Regions from separate parts of the Homo sapiens genome. Here regions 1 and 2 are each linked to region 3. The links are contacts of gene promoters, found by promoter capture Hi-C in blood cells and fetal thymus (Javierre and others, 2016). All regions are on one chromosome and are shown on one strand. Each heading gives the region's core, a stretch centred on a gene start or on the middle of the fragment in contact. The rest is flanking DNA. Distances are from core to core; before and after follow the strand shown. Region 1 overlaps HOOK3 (hook microtubule tethering protein 3). Region 2 overlaps GOLGA7 (golgin A7). Region 3 holds the start of KAT6A (lysine acetyltransferase 6A).

Evidence for each region. The method cuts DNA at HindIII sites, captures the fragments that hold promoters and counts their contacts. A CHiCAGO score of 5 or more calls a contact.
Region 1: a contact is called between a fragment that was not itself captured here and the fragment with the promoter of KAT6A in region 3, in 1 of 17 cell types (fetal thymus). The highest score is 6.5, in fetal thymus.
Region 2: a contact is called between a fragment that was not itself captured here and the fragment with the promoter of KAT6A in region 3, in 1 of 17 cell types (neutrophils). The highest score is 8.0, in neutrophils.

Annotation. Positions count from the first base shown.
Region 1 is chr8:42,900,664-42,904,724 of GRCh38, forward strand. The region is part of intron 1 of HOOK3 (hook microtubule tethering protein 3); the gene reads left to right. Among named protein-coding and RNA genes, the nearest start is that of HOOK3, 5.7 kb to the left of the region's middle. The HindIII fragment of the contact is 6,491 bases long and covers 1-4,061 here.
Region 2 is chr8:41,494,162-41,498,198 of GRCh38, forward strand. It overlaps GOLGA7 (golgin A7), which reads left to right. Exons shown (of 5, transcript NM_001002296.2): 2 at 3,348-3,500. Among named protein-coding and RNA genes, the nearest start is that of GOLGA7, 5.6 kb to the left of the region's middle. The HindIII fragment of the contact is 6,770 bases long and covers 1-4,037 here.
Region 3 is chr8:42,049,597-42,054,056 of GRCh38, forward strand. It overlaps KAT6A (lysine acetyltransferase 6A), which reads right to left and starts at 2,391. Exons shown (of 17, transcript NM_006766.5): 1 at 2,305-2,391. KAT6A-AS1 (KAT6A antisense RNA 1) reads left to right here and starts at 2,154. Exons shown (of 2, transcript NR_136589.1): 1 at 2,154-2,389. RefSeq lists silencers at 1,485-1,954, 2,055-2,684, 2,875-3,034 and enhancers at 2,483-3,004, 3,005-3,525. The HindIII fragment of the contact is 5,822 bases long and covers 1,184-4,460 here.

The sequences.
Region 1 (4,061 bases), core at 1,517-4,016, 850 kb after region 3:
GTATAGCATAAGAGTACATACAGGTTCTGACATTAGGCAGCCTGGGTTCAAATCCTAGTTTTGTTCTATACTAACTGATGTGACTTTGTAACTTCACCTCTGTGTTTTGATTGCATTGATATTTAACTTTATGTTTGCTAACTTCACCAGAGATTCTCATGCTTTAGTGTTGATCTGCATCATCTGGAGAGCTTGCTAAAACACAGATGCCCAGAGTTGCTAGTTCTGTAGGTCTGGGCTGGGCCTGAGATTTTGTATTTCTAATAGGTTCCCAGGTGATGCCATTGTTGGTGACATAGGGACCACATTTTGAGGACCATGGCTCTAGAAAATTATTTGACATTTTGCGCTGGACAGTTCTTTGCTGTGTGGGCACTGCACTATGCGCTATGTTTAATAGTAGCATCCCATTGCCTCAACCAGCTAGATGACAATAGCACCCAACTCACAGCCAAAAATGTCTCCTCGGGAGCAAAATTATCCATTGCTCTAGAGATAGTAATTCCAGGTGATCTCATGCTTTACTCTTCTCATGCTTTTGTTGGGGAGGGGGAGGTAGAGGTTGGGTGGTGGTAATAGAGCTTCTTGGAATTAAAAGAAAGATTATAACCCTTCAGGTAGAGTTTCATGCCTTAATGCAGTTAAGTGCAATTGTCTTTCAGTTTTATTGTACTGCTATCCTGAAATAGATGTTAGCTCAGAGAACTGGTATGTGACAGATTTTTAAAAATTAAGGTACGGTTTACATACCCATAAAATTCATCCTTTTAAAGTGTATAATTTTTTTGGTTTTTAGTATGATCACAAGATTGTGCAGTCATCATGACTATCTAGTTCCAAGAACATTTTCATCACCCCAAAAATAAACTAGGGGATAAATTTTCTTTAGGATCTGTTTCACTTTGGTCTTGCAGCAGAGGTGGACATCTCTGACCCTTATGAGCAACTATGTACCTCAAGGGCTAATACAGAGAAAATAATTGAATAAAGCCATGTTTTAAAAACAAAAATGAAAATTTAGCTTCCCTAAATCCCAAGAGAAAAAAACAAATCAAGTCTTTTTTTGGAGGTGGAGTCTTGCTCTGTTGCCCAGGCTGGAGTGCAGTGGCACAATCTCGGCTCACTGCAACCTCCACCTCCTGGGTTCAAGCAATTCTGCCTCAGCCTCCCTAGTAGCTGGGATTACAGGCACGCACCACCACGCCCGGCTAATTTTTGTATTTTTTAGTAGAGACGGGGTTTCACTATGTTGGTCAGGCTGGTCTTGAACTCCTGACCTCAAGATCCACCCGCCTCGGCTTCCAAATGTTCTGGGATTACAGGCGTGAGCCACCGTGCCAGGCCCAGATCAAGTCTTAACAACTAAGTTACTTGCTTTTTTGAATTACCTGCTTTGTTGAGTTGCTTCTTCTGATTGGCCAGAGGCTGTTTTCCAATCTTGCATCCCTTCCCTTTCATAGTGCTTTGGATCATAGGATTCCAAATGCCAAACCAGTGCCCAGCTGTGTAAGAATTATTTGATGAACTTGTTAAAAATAGATCCCCAGCTTCCTACACACAGATTCTGATTCAGTAGGGGGAGCCAAGAAATGTGTATTCTCTCTCTCTCTCTCTTTTTTTTTTTTTAAGACAGGGTCTCACTCTGTTGCCCAGGCTGGAGTGCCGTGGAGCAGTCACAGCTCACTGCAGTCCCGACCCCCCAGGCTCAAGTGATCCTCCCACCTCCGCCTCCTGAATAGCTGGGACTACAGGCGTGACCCACCATACCCAGCTAATTTTTGTATTTTTTGTAGAGACAGAATTTTGCCATGTTTTTCAGCATGGTCTCGAATTCCTGGGCTCAAGTGATCCTCCAGCTTTGACCTCCCATAGTGCTGAGGTAACAGGTATAAGCCACCACGCCCTGCCAAAATGTGTATTTTCAAACCCCCCCAGATGATTCCCCTACACACCAGGTTTGGGACCATTGCTTTAGACTTTGCAAAATACCTCATGGGCATTCATTTTCTCATTCATTCTGAAGCAACACACCCTTCTATAGGCTATTTTTCCCCAATCTTTCTTTATATGGAAAAACTGATATTGAGAGAGATGAAACATCCTGTCTAAATTTACAGGGCAAAACTAGGGATTAGAATTAGCTCCTTTCATTCAAAGTGGCGTCCACTGAGGGCTTGTTCGTATCAGGCATTGTGCTGAGGTCAGTGATAAAGAGAAGAATGAGACATAGTCCTCACTGCTGCCTCTATTTTTCCTTCTAAACAAACCTACAAGAAAGATTGGGTTTTCTTTTTTGAAAATGGGCCATTGACTTGGCAACTGTAGAATGGAAGCAAGTGCTTATTTCTTTTAAGTGCTTATTTCTTTTACTAATGAGCAGGCAGCTGGAGATAGTATGGAGTAAAATTCAAAATCAGTTCCCGCAGATGGTGTTTATTTGTTTCATGTATTCATTTACTAATCATTTATTGCACCTCTACCAGGTGTTTGGTTTGTGTCAGGGCAGCTTGGAAGGATCCTCTTATCAGCTTTCCCAAATAGACACTTAAGTAAAAACTTGCTATGAGGATCTTTAAGATAATTCCCTGGGCCTCTACCACCATAACCGTCTCTACCTGCAAAACTCTCCTGTATTATATACAAAGAAGCTACTGACTGTACTGTTAATAGTTGTCTTTTTTTTTTTTTTTTTTTTTTTTGAGACGGAGTCTCGCTCTGTGGCCCAGGTTGGAGTGCAGTGGCGCGATCTCGGCTCACTGCAAGCTCCACCTCCCGAGTTCCCACCATTCTCCTGCTTCAGCCTCCCGAGTAGCTGGGACTACAGGCGCCCGCCACAGCGCCCGACTAATTTTTTGTATTTTTAGTAGAGACGGGGTTTCACCGTGTTGGCCAGGATGGTCTCATCTCCTGACCTCGTGATCCACTCTCTTCGGCCTCCCAAAGTGCTGGGATTACAGACATGAGCCACCGTGCCCGGCCAATAGTTGTCTTTTAAAGATTTGATAAATGAGGTCGGGCGTGGTGGCTCAAACGCCTGTAATCCCAGCACTTTGGGAGGCTAAGGCGGGCGGATGACGAGGTCAGAGATGAGGACATCCTGGCCAACACGGTGAAACCCTGTCTCTACTTAAAATACAAAAAAGTTAGCCGGGCATGGTAGCGGGCGCCTGTATTCCCAGCTACTCGGGGGGCTGAGGCAGGAGAATGGCGTGAACCCGGGAGGCGGAGCTTGCAGTGAGCCGATATCGCGCCACTGCACTCCAGCCTGGGCGACAGAGTGAGACTCCGTCTGAAAAACAAAACAAAACAAAAAGATTTGATAAATGATACGGTGCGGAGAAGTAGCCACTCACCCACCGTTAGTAAGAGAATAAATTGCTACAGTATATATTTAGGGCAGTTTGACAGTTTTATCAAAAACCGTAAAATGTTCATACACTTTTTGACCTAGCAGTTTTACTTCTTTTCTAACCCAATAAATAAAAATTTGTGTGAAGACATATGGTCACCTGAGTGTTATTCCCAGTATTCTCATTGTCTGTACTGAGTTTAGCTTCATCCGTGTTAGTATATAAACCTACTCAAATGGGTCTTCCTGTCTCTTTCCCTCCACTCCTTCCTTCATACTGCAGCCGGTATGATCTTTTTTTTTTTTTTTTTTTTTGAGACGGAGTCTCGCTCTGTCGCCCAGGCTGGAGTGCAGTGGCATGATCTTGGCTCACTGCAACCTCCGCCTCCCGGGTTCAAGCGATTCTCCTGCATCAGCCTCCAGTGTAGCTTGGACTACAGGTGTGTGCCATCAGGCCTGGTTAATTTTTTGTATTTTTAGTGAAGAGACAGGATTTCACTGTGTTAGTCAGGATGGTTCTGATCTCCAGACCTCGTGATCCATCCGACTCCGCCTCCCAAAGTGCTGGGATTACAGGCATGAGCCACCGCCCCCGGCCAGATCTTATATTAATACAATGCAAACCTCATGGCTCACTCCCCTGGTTCAAATCCTTTGCTTACTTTATTCATAGAATAAGGTCCTAATGTGGCTTCTAAGGTTTTACATGTTA
Region 2 (4,037 bases), core at 1,141-3,640, 560 kb before region 3:
CGGAATAACGCATAAGAATTAAGTGTTTCTGGCTGGGCATGGTGGTTTGCACCCAAGTAATCCCAGCTGCTCTGGGGGTTGAGGTAGGAGTATCCCTTGGGGCCAGGAGTTCAAGACCAGTCTGGGCAACATAGCGATACTCTGTCACTAAACTTAAAAAATAATAATAATTAGGGTTTCCGGGATAAACAGTAATTCTGATATGAAAGAAATAAGATGTTTCTGGGTTGAATCCCATGGTTTTGAATTGTATTGTAAAGAAATATAAATAATTCAATGACTTATAACATAGGCACATCAAATGTGATTGGAATTATTTAGACTTTTGTAGACTTATCGGTGGACAAACTGAAGGCATTAACGTAGGCATAATTAGGTGAACGTAACAGCTTACCATTTTTGTTTGCTGAGCTCTCCTCAGTCTGTTTTCGTGAATGAGAACTCACAGTTTCCCAGATGACCAGCCTTGACACCACATCTACAAGGGGTAGCTCAGTGAAGAAACACTGCCCCTGCGTTTAAAGGCCGTCTTGACCCACCTAGCCTTTGTCCAAATCTCTAATATTCCTGGAAATTTAAAGTAACTCCTTTTGAAAAATGGGTAGAGCCAACACCACTTTAAAGTTTGCATTAAATTCATGCATGCCACTAGCCCATTGACTCCTCACATTTTCCACACAACGGACAAAACAATGACTACAACTGCTTCTAACTTAAAGAGTTGTCATAGCTTAAGGATGGTCATGAATTGTTTTACACTTTAAAAGATTATGTTCTTGAGGCCAGGTGCAGGTGGCTCTTTGGGAGGCCAGGGGGGTGGATCACATGAGGCTAGGAGCCTGAGACCAGCCTGGCAACATGGCAAAACCTCGTCTCTACTAAAAATACAAAAATTAGTAGGGAATGGTGGTGCACGCCTGTAATCCCAGCTACTCGGGAGGCTGAGACACGAGAATCACTTGATCCTGGGACCAGAGGTTACAGTGAGCCAAGATTGCGCCACTGCACTCCAGCCAGGGTGACAGAGTGAGACTCTGTCTCAAAAAAAAAAAAAAAAAAAAAAAAGATTACATTCTTGGGAATAGTGAATAGTAGGGCTCATACTGTATGTTGAGGGTTTTTTTTCTTTCTTTCTTTTTTTGAGACAGGGTCTCACTCTGTCACCCAGACTGGAGTGCAGTGGTGAGATCTCAGTTCACTGCAACCTCCACTTCCCAGGCTCCAGCAATCCTCCCACCTCAGCCTCCTGAGTAGCTAGGACTATAGGCATGCACCACCACGCCTGGCTAATTTTTGCATTTTTAGTAGAGACAGAGTTTCACCATGTTGCCCAGGCTGGTCTCAAACTCCTGAGCTCAAGTGATCCACCCAGCTCAACTTCCCAAGTGCTGGGATTACAGGAATGAGCCACCACGCCAGCCTGATTTTTTTTTTTCTGAGTCGGTTTCTATTATAAAGAAAGATTTAATAGGTTCACAGAGACAGGAAAGGAGAAAAAAAAAAAGCCAAACAAAAAAGTCTTTTAAATAAGGACTTCATAAAAGAGAGAATTCATACGTAAGTAGTTATTAATTTTAGAAATAAGGGAATCCTTATGCGAGAGAAGGCCTAGAGTGCAGACAGATAAGAATGGCAGTATTGGATGATTGCTCTCCTAATGGGCCTTGAAAGTCCTGGGATGAAGTAGCAAAATTTGAAATCTGTTATACAAAGTACTATTAGAAGACAGTAAAGTAATATTGGAAGAATAAAGTAAAAGCAGATGATTGAGTGAAACAATGGATGACAGTACAGGTTCTTTCTTATGTGAAATATGTGGAACCAGAAGTATTTCAGTTTTTGGGGTTTTTTTAGATTTTGAAATATTTGTTTATACTAATGAGATATCTTGGGAATGGGATCCAAGTCTAAACACGAAATTCATTATGTTTTATATCCACCTTATACATATAACCTGAAGGTAATTTTATACAATATTTTAAATGACTTTATGAGACAAAGTGTGTGTACACTGAACCATCTTATCACCCTTTGTGAGCACGCTTGCATGGGAGAATCTGGCTGTGCATGGAAAAGATACATGGCAGCTGATGGGGGCTGGAAGGGTCTTTTTCTCTTGGGGACACTGAATAAACTATGTGTTGTGCGCCTGCATTTTGACTGTGACCCCTCACATGAGGTCGGGTTTGGAATTTCCCACTTGTGGTATCATGTCAGTGCTCAAAAGTTTCAGATTTTGGAGCCTTTCTGACTTCAGAATTTAAGATCAGGGATGCTCAACCTGTGGTAGTATTAGTGTAAATTTAAGATAATGGTGTCACCAAATAGAAAGAGGTAATAAGAATGACTTAATGTGAAAAATTGTTTATTAGCTTGAGATTTTACCTTAACAAATTTTACCTTATTTAGTAACAAGATAATTGCTTCAAAAGAGATAGGCTGAGTAAACAGAATATAGAACCTACGCCTTTTGATCCTTCTGCTAAAATGCCATTTTTTTTTTTTTTGCCTAGTAAATTCCAGTCTTTAGTTACTCAATTTAAGATTACCTGCCCTTCCCAGATAAAGGGAATTTCTCCTTGCTTTTGTGTCCCCACTAGGCTTTATATTTGCCTATATGATAGTACCCTGTCAGTTTATTGCTTTTTTTTTTTTTTTTTTTTTGAGACGGAGTCTCGCTCTGTCACCCAGGCTGGAGTGCAGTGGCGCAGTCTCGGCTCACTGCAAGCTCCACCTCCCGGGTTCACGCCATTCTCCTGCCTCAGCCTCCCCAGTAGCTGGGGCTATAGGCACCCGCCACCATGCCCGGCTAATTTTTTTTGGTATTTTTAGTAGAGACGGGGTTTCACCATGTTAGCCAGGATGGTCTCCATCTCCTGACCTCGTGATCCGCCCACCTCAGCCTCCCAAAGTGCTGGGATTACAGGCATGAGCCACCGCACCTGGCCAGCTTACTGCATTTTTATGTTTACATTGCCTGTTCTGCTTGCATAATTAAACTCTTAAGGATTGAGACAGTGCTTTATCTTGAGATTTTTCATAGTATCTGATAGTAGGCGCTCAGTAAGTGTGAAACTAAATGAATGGAAAGAGGAATAGAGCCTAAAGTTACTTGAAATTTAGTAGAAAGAATAAAGAAGTACCTTATTGAGCCTTGAAGCTATCCAGTATTTATAAGAGGGATAAAATTAAACAAATTAAGCAGTTTTGGTAACTTAGGCCCAGATTTAGTCACCAAAAAAATTGTCAACTAAGAATGGTGAGAAAACAAGATAAATTAATGATAGCATGCATTAGTTGATTTTTTTTTTCCAAAACTTAATTTTTAAATATTTTCTTCTCTACAGATTGATAGGCAGCAGTTTGAAGAAACAGTTCGAACTCTAAATAACCTTTATGCAGAAGCAGAGAAGCTCGGCGGCCAGTCATATCTCGAAGGTTGTTTGGCTTGTTTAACAGCATATACCATCTTCCTATGCATGGAAACTCATTATGAGAAGGTAATGCTACATTTGTTTTCACAAAAATCTCTTAAAATCATGAAGAAGGCAAGTTTATTACACATTGATGCTTACATGGTGATAGTTGCCGTAAAATATTTAGGGGCATTTATCATTCAAATTGTGTTGTTCCTGTGTACAGAGGCACATAGTCCTGAGTCTTTCAAAACAGGTTGCAGTTGGTATGTCCACTTGCAGATGATGTGTCAATGTTCAGACTGGCCTACACTTAAGAAGAATGTAGAAAATCTATATGTTCTCTTCCTACTCAGCTTTCTGGGAATGTTTTTACTTTATTTCCCTAAATTTCACTCTCTTCTCCCACCTGAGTTCTTACTTTCTCTTTCCAGCTGCCTACTAGCTCCCGAATTGCTGATTTCTCAACTTAAGATGACCAGAAGTCAAACCTCCCACCTCCCCATTTTGTCAATAGCACCCCTGTCTTTTCAGTACCATCTTTGGGCATGAGGGATGAAGAAGAGGGAAAAATTAATCTGTTTTCAAAGACTGAAGTATCTTTCATTTTCCCAGTCATTA
Region 3 (4,460 bases), core at 1,141-3,640:
TGTACTCCGCAATCTCTGCTCACCAGTCTAGGAATTTCAACTCTTCCTTGACATCTTTCCCCAAGAAACTAGTCAGCACTTCAACAAGTATCTGGATTAGTAGAAAGAATCCTGCAATGAAAGTAAAAGTGAATCTTTCATCTTTCAAAATTCTAGACATTCAGAGTAGACAAAAACAGTCAATAAGGCAGAAAACGACTGAGAAAATTTTAGTTCTTACATGAAAAGAATGAATACAATATGCACACCCAGTTTATAATTTAAGTACAGTATTACCTTAATCTCTCCTAATGGAAACAAAAATACTATTGAAAATAGCCTAGAGTAAAAGTGCTTACTGAATTTAACAATAATCCACTTTCATTCAAATTTTAAGAATTACATGCTGATAGCTTCTCCTAACCCAAACTAAGATGTTTCTATTCATATGCTGAAGAGAGTCACAACTGTCAAACTGCGTGTAAGTAATTCAGACAGGAAAACTAGAAATGAGGAAGGCCCAGAATCACTGGGGTCAACGCACATACTACATATCAAACGGACGGTACAGAAAAAGAAATACACTGGCTACTTGTAGGACTAAAGAGAAGCCCAAATAATAAAGATATAAATTCAAGATTGCTGTCCTGAAACGAACATTAATAAAACATAAACAGAAATGTACTGTCTCTCTGAATCAAAGTCAGTATCCCTATAAAAGAATCTGGTAGATGCAATCTTGTTTAATCACTAAAGTACTGAATTCTGAATCTAACTCTTTTGCCTCCAAAAATAAGTTTAACTGAAGTGTTTTTTAGAACTTCTGCTCTCATTCTGGAGATCATTTGCATTACAATATAAACAATGCTAGACAAATGGCTCCCACAGCAACTATTCTTGGTAGTGACATTAAAATCAAACGGAAAACTAATACACACTAGGAAAGAGATATTACTATTAACTCTGATAGGAAAGAAAAGAGTGAAGCAAACATTCAAACCTGAGCCAAGATTTGTTTTTAAATCAGCTGCCTAAAAAGAAGCCCCCTGGGAGAATCATGCTTCAATTTGGTGAGGGTCTCAAGAGGATAGAAATCAGAGTATCATTACTCCAAGTAAGCTCATTATACAGATATTAAGTCTAAACTAAATGAGAAGCTACATCCTGAGTTTAACAAGCTGGGAACGAACGTCCTAATTGACTAAGCTTCGCAGGTAAAAGAATGAGTGACAGTCACTCATTGTCTTTCCAGTCGGGATTGTCATCAGTCTCCAGGTCTTCGGAAAGTCAAGCGCCTGCAGCCTCGGATCTTAACTCCCGGAAAGTACACGAGCGGCTAGAGCGAGCGCAACTCGCTTCCGACAGTCCTTCCCGTCCCCATTCCCCACCCCTAAACACGTCTTCGCGCTCTCTTTTCAAAGAGCGAGAAACTTTAAAAACTTGGATCTGCACAGCCCGGCAGCTCGCCGACGGGGCGCTGCACCGTTTCCACGCGATGGAAACAGACCCCGAGCACAAGTTAACAATGAAATCACGTGAAGGAGTTCAGAGCGGTGCATAGCCCCGGCCCAGCTCCGCACCCTAAGCTCTGGGGGCCGGCTCGAGGGCGGCGCGGGTTGCTGGGAGCCTGACAGTCGCGCACCGGGCCAAGCCGCGAGGTTGACAGGCGCCCGGCCTCCCCTCGGCGGCTGGGCTGACAGCCCGGCAGACACAACACCACACGTGCTGCGCCTCGCACCACAACACCCGCCGGCCTGTCAGCCCCGCTCGCCGCCTCAGCCCCGCTCGGATCCCCGCGCCCCCGGCCGGAGCCAAAGCCGGAGCCGGAACCCGAGCCCGAGCCCGAACCCGAGCGCCCGCGAGCGCGGGGAGAAGCGGCCCGGCCCGGCACAGCCGGCACGCGCGCGGCGGGCGGGTGGGCGCGCCCCGAGGGAGAGCGGGCTCGCCGGCTCCGCCAGCCCGAGGCTCCGCGGCCTGGGCCGCTCGCCGCCCGCCCACCCGCCGGCTCCCCCAGGGCGGGCCCGGCCGGCGGGATCGGGGGCGCGGGGCCCGCGAGCGCGGGGCCGGGCGGCGGCGCGCGGGCCGCGGGCCGGGGCAGCCGGGCGCCGAACAAGCGAGCAAGCGAGCGAGCGAGCGGGCGGGCGCGAGGGGGCGGCCACGGCGCCCCAGCCCGAGGCCTGGCGCAGAGCAGCGGGAGGCGGCGCAGGCCGCGGCGGGGCCTGCAGCGGCCCGCCGACCCCGCGAGGCAGCGGAGTGGGCCCTGGAGCGGCTCGGCCTCGGGCTGGGCGGCCGGGGGCGGCCGGGAACGGCCCCTCGGCTACTTACCGGGAGGAAGGACAGCCGAGATCCCGGGGCCCCGGGCCGGACCGCGGAGATGCCCCAAACTGACACGGCCGCCATCTTGGAGACAGTGAGCTCCAGCCGGGGGGAGGGGAGGCAAGGCGGCGGAACAGCCGCGGGGGGAGGGGAGCGTCGCGAGGGAACGGCGGCCTGGGGGAGGGAGCTGGAAGAGCCTGGGCGGGCGGCGAGGGGAGGCGGAGGCCCGGCAGCGCGGGTGGGGGGCGGCCGAGAGCGGGAAGAGCTGGGCCGAGAGCCGGGAAAGGCCGGAGGGCGGGGCGGGGCAGCAGGGAAGAGCCGGCCGGCGGGGTCACGTGGGGCCGGTACAAAAGGCCAAAGCCAGGGGAGGAGGAGGACTTGGTGGGGCTGGAGGCTGGGGAGCGGGGGTTCCTCCTCTCCCGTCTCACGCGTTTAAGTCAGACGGCGACCCGGGAGAGGAGGAGCTGGTGCACCCCATGCCACCGCTGGGGAAACTGAGGGCAGGAGTCTGGGTGGGGTGGCTTCAGTGTGGCACGGAAATCCGGCAGCCACGCAGGATGGGAACTCTCGGCGGCGTCTGTTTACAGTTAGTGAGCCCTCCCTCCCCACTCATTTGCCTGCACAGCGACTTTCCGGAGCCCGAGGGCGGGGCCTGGGGGGCGGAGAGGAGGCGGCTTCCCGTCCTCACCCCTGGCAGCTCGCCTCAGCCCCCGACGGCTCTCCTGTGTCGGTGGGAAGAGTTGGGGAGAGGGTGGAACCAGAAGCACCCGTCTTAACCCCTTTCAGCAGTGACTTCATTTCTTCCCTCCCCCAGCAGCTGAGAGGGTTCTTGGAGCTCACTAGAGCCATTTTATGGGAGACTCCACAGACCTGGGTCGTGTGACTTGGACAAGGTCACACAGCTAGTATGTGGCGCGCACCTGAGCCTGGGACTGAGATTTGTCTTATTCCAAAGCCGGTCTTCCCTTCTTGCCCTGTGCGGAACTCTTGTCCATACTTAGGGCGTTGGAACCACGAGCAGGCGGTTCTTCATGGCCTGCCTGTCCACTACTGGCTGTATGGACGTTTCTTTGTCTTGCCTTTCATCTACTTTAAACTCTTTGATGCAGAGACTGAGTCATACTTTTTTTTTTTTTTTTGAGACAGTGTCGCTCTGTTGCCCAGGCTGGAGTGCAAGTGGTGCGATCTTGGCTCACTGCAACCTCCGTCTCCTGGGTTCAAGCGATTCTCCTACCTCATCCTCCTGAGTAGCTGGGACTGCAGGCGCCCGCCACCACGCCTGGCTTATTTTTGTATTTTTAGTAGAGACGGGGTGTCACTATGTTGGCCAGGCCGCTGGTCTCGAACTCCTGACTTCAAGTGATCCGCCCTCTTCGGCCTCCCAAAGTGCTGGGATTACAGGCCTGAGACACTGCACCTGGCCAAGTCATGCATTTTTTTTTTTTCTGCATTCACTAGAAAGACAGTAGACATGAAAAAGACACTAAATGTTTAATCGTTGACATGGACGTGTATCCTGCTGCCTGACCTTTATCTGCCCTGTCCCCAACCCCATACGACACACCCCGCCTAGACTGTCGCCCGCAATACCTCATTTTATCTCAGCTTTAGCTTTTAAGGGCCTCCCTCTCACCCACTGCCTTAACTTCCATGCTGACTTCCTTTTCTGAACTTCTGTAGTAGTATCATTTGCTCTAGTCATTTTGCACTTACATGTGATATATATATATATATATATATATTCCGAATACATTCACTGGTAAATGCTCTCCTATAATGACTCTGCATCTCCAGCACCTAGAATAATGTTGTACAAGTACTGTAGTAGGCGGTTTAAAATAAAAAAATGTTGCTCGTGAATGAACAATTTTTTAAGCCGTTAAGAAAGCCGTTTGTGGCGGGGCGCTGCTGTAGCCCAGCTACTCGGGAGGCCTGCTTGAGCCCGGGAGTTCCAGGCTGCAGTGAACTATGATCGCCACTACACTCCAGCCTGAGAGACACAGCAAGAGGGAACCCAAACTTTTCTATCTATCCCGTCTCCACTCTAATCCATAGCCCTACCCTCCATACGGTAGACTCTGGACCATTCAGTAAGAATAACGTAACTTTTCAGATCATGGTCCAGCCTAATCAATATCCTGACACTGACAGAAACAGAAGTGTAA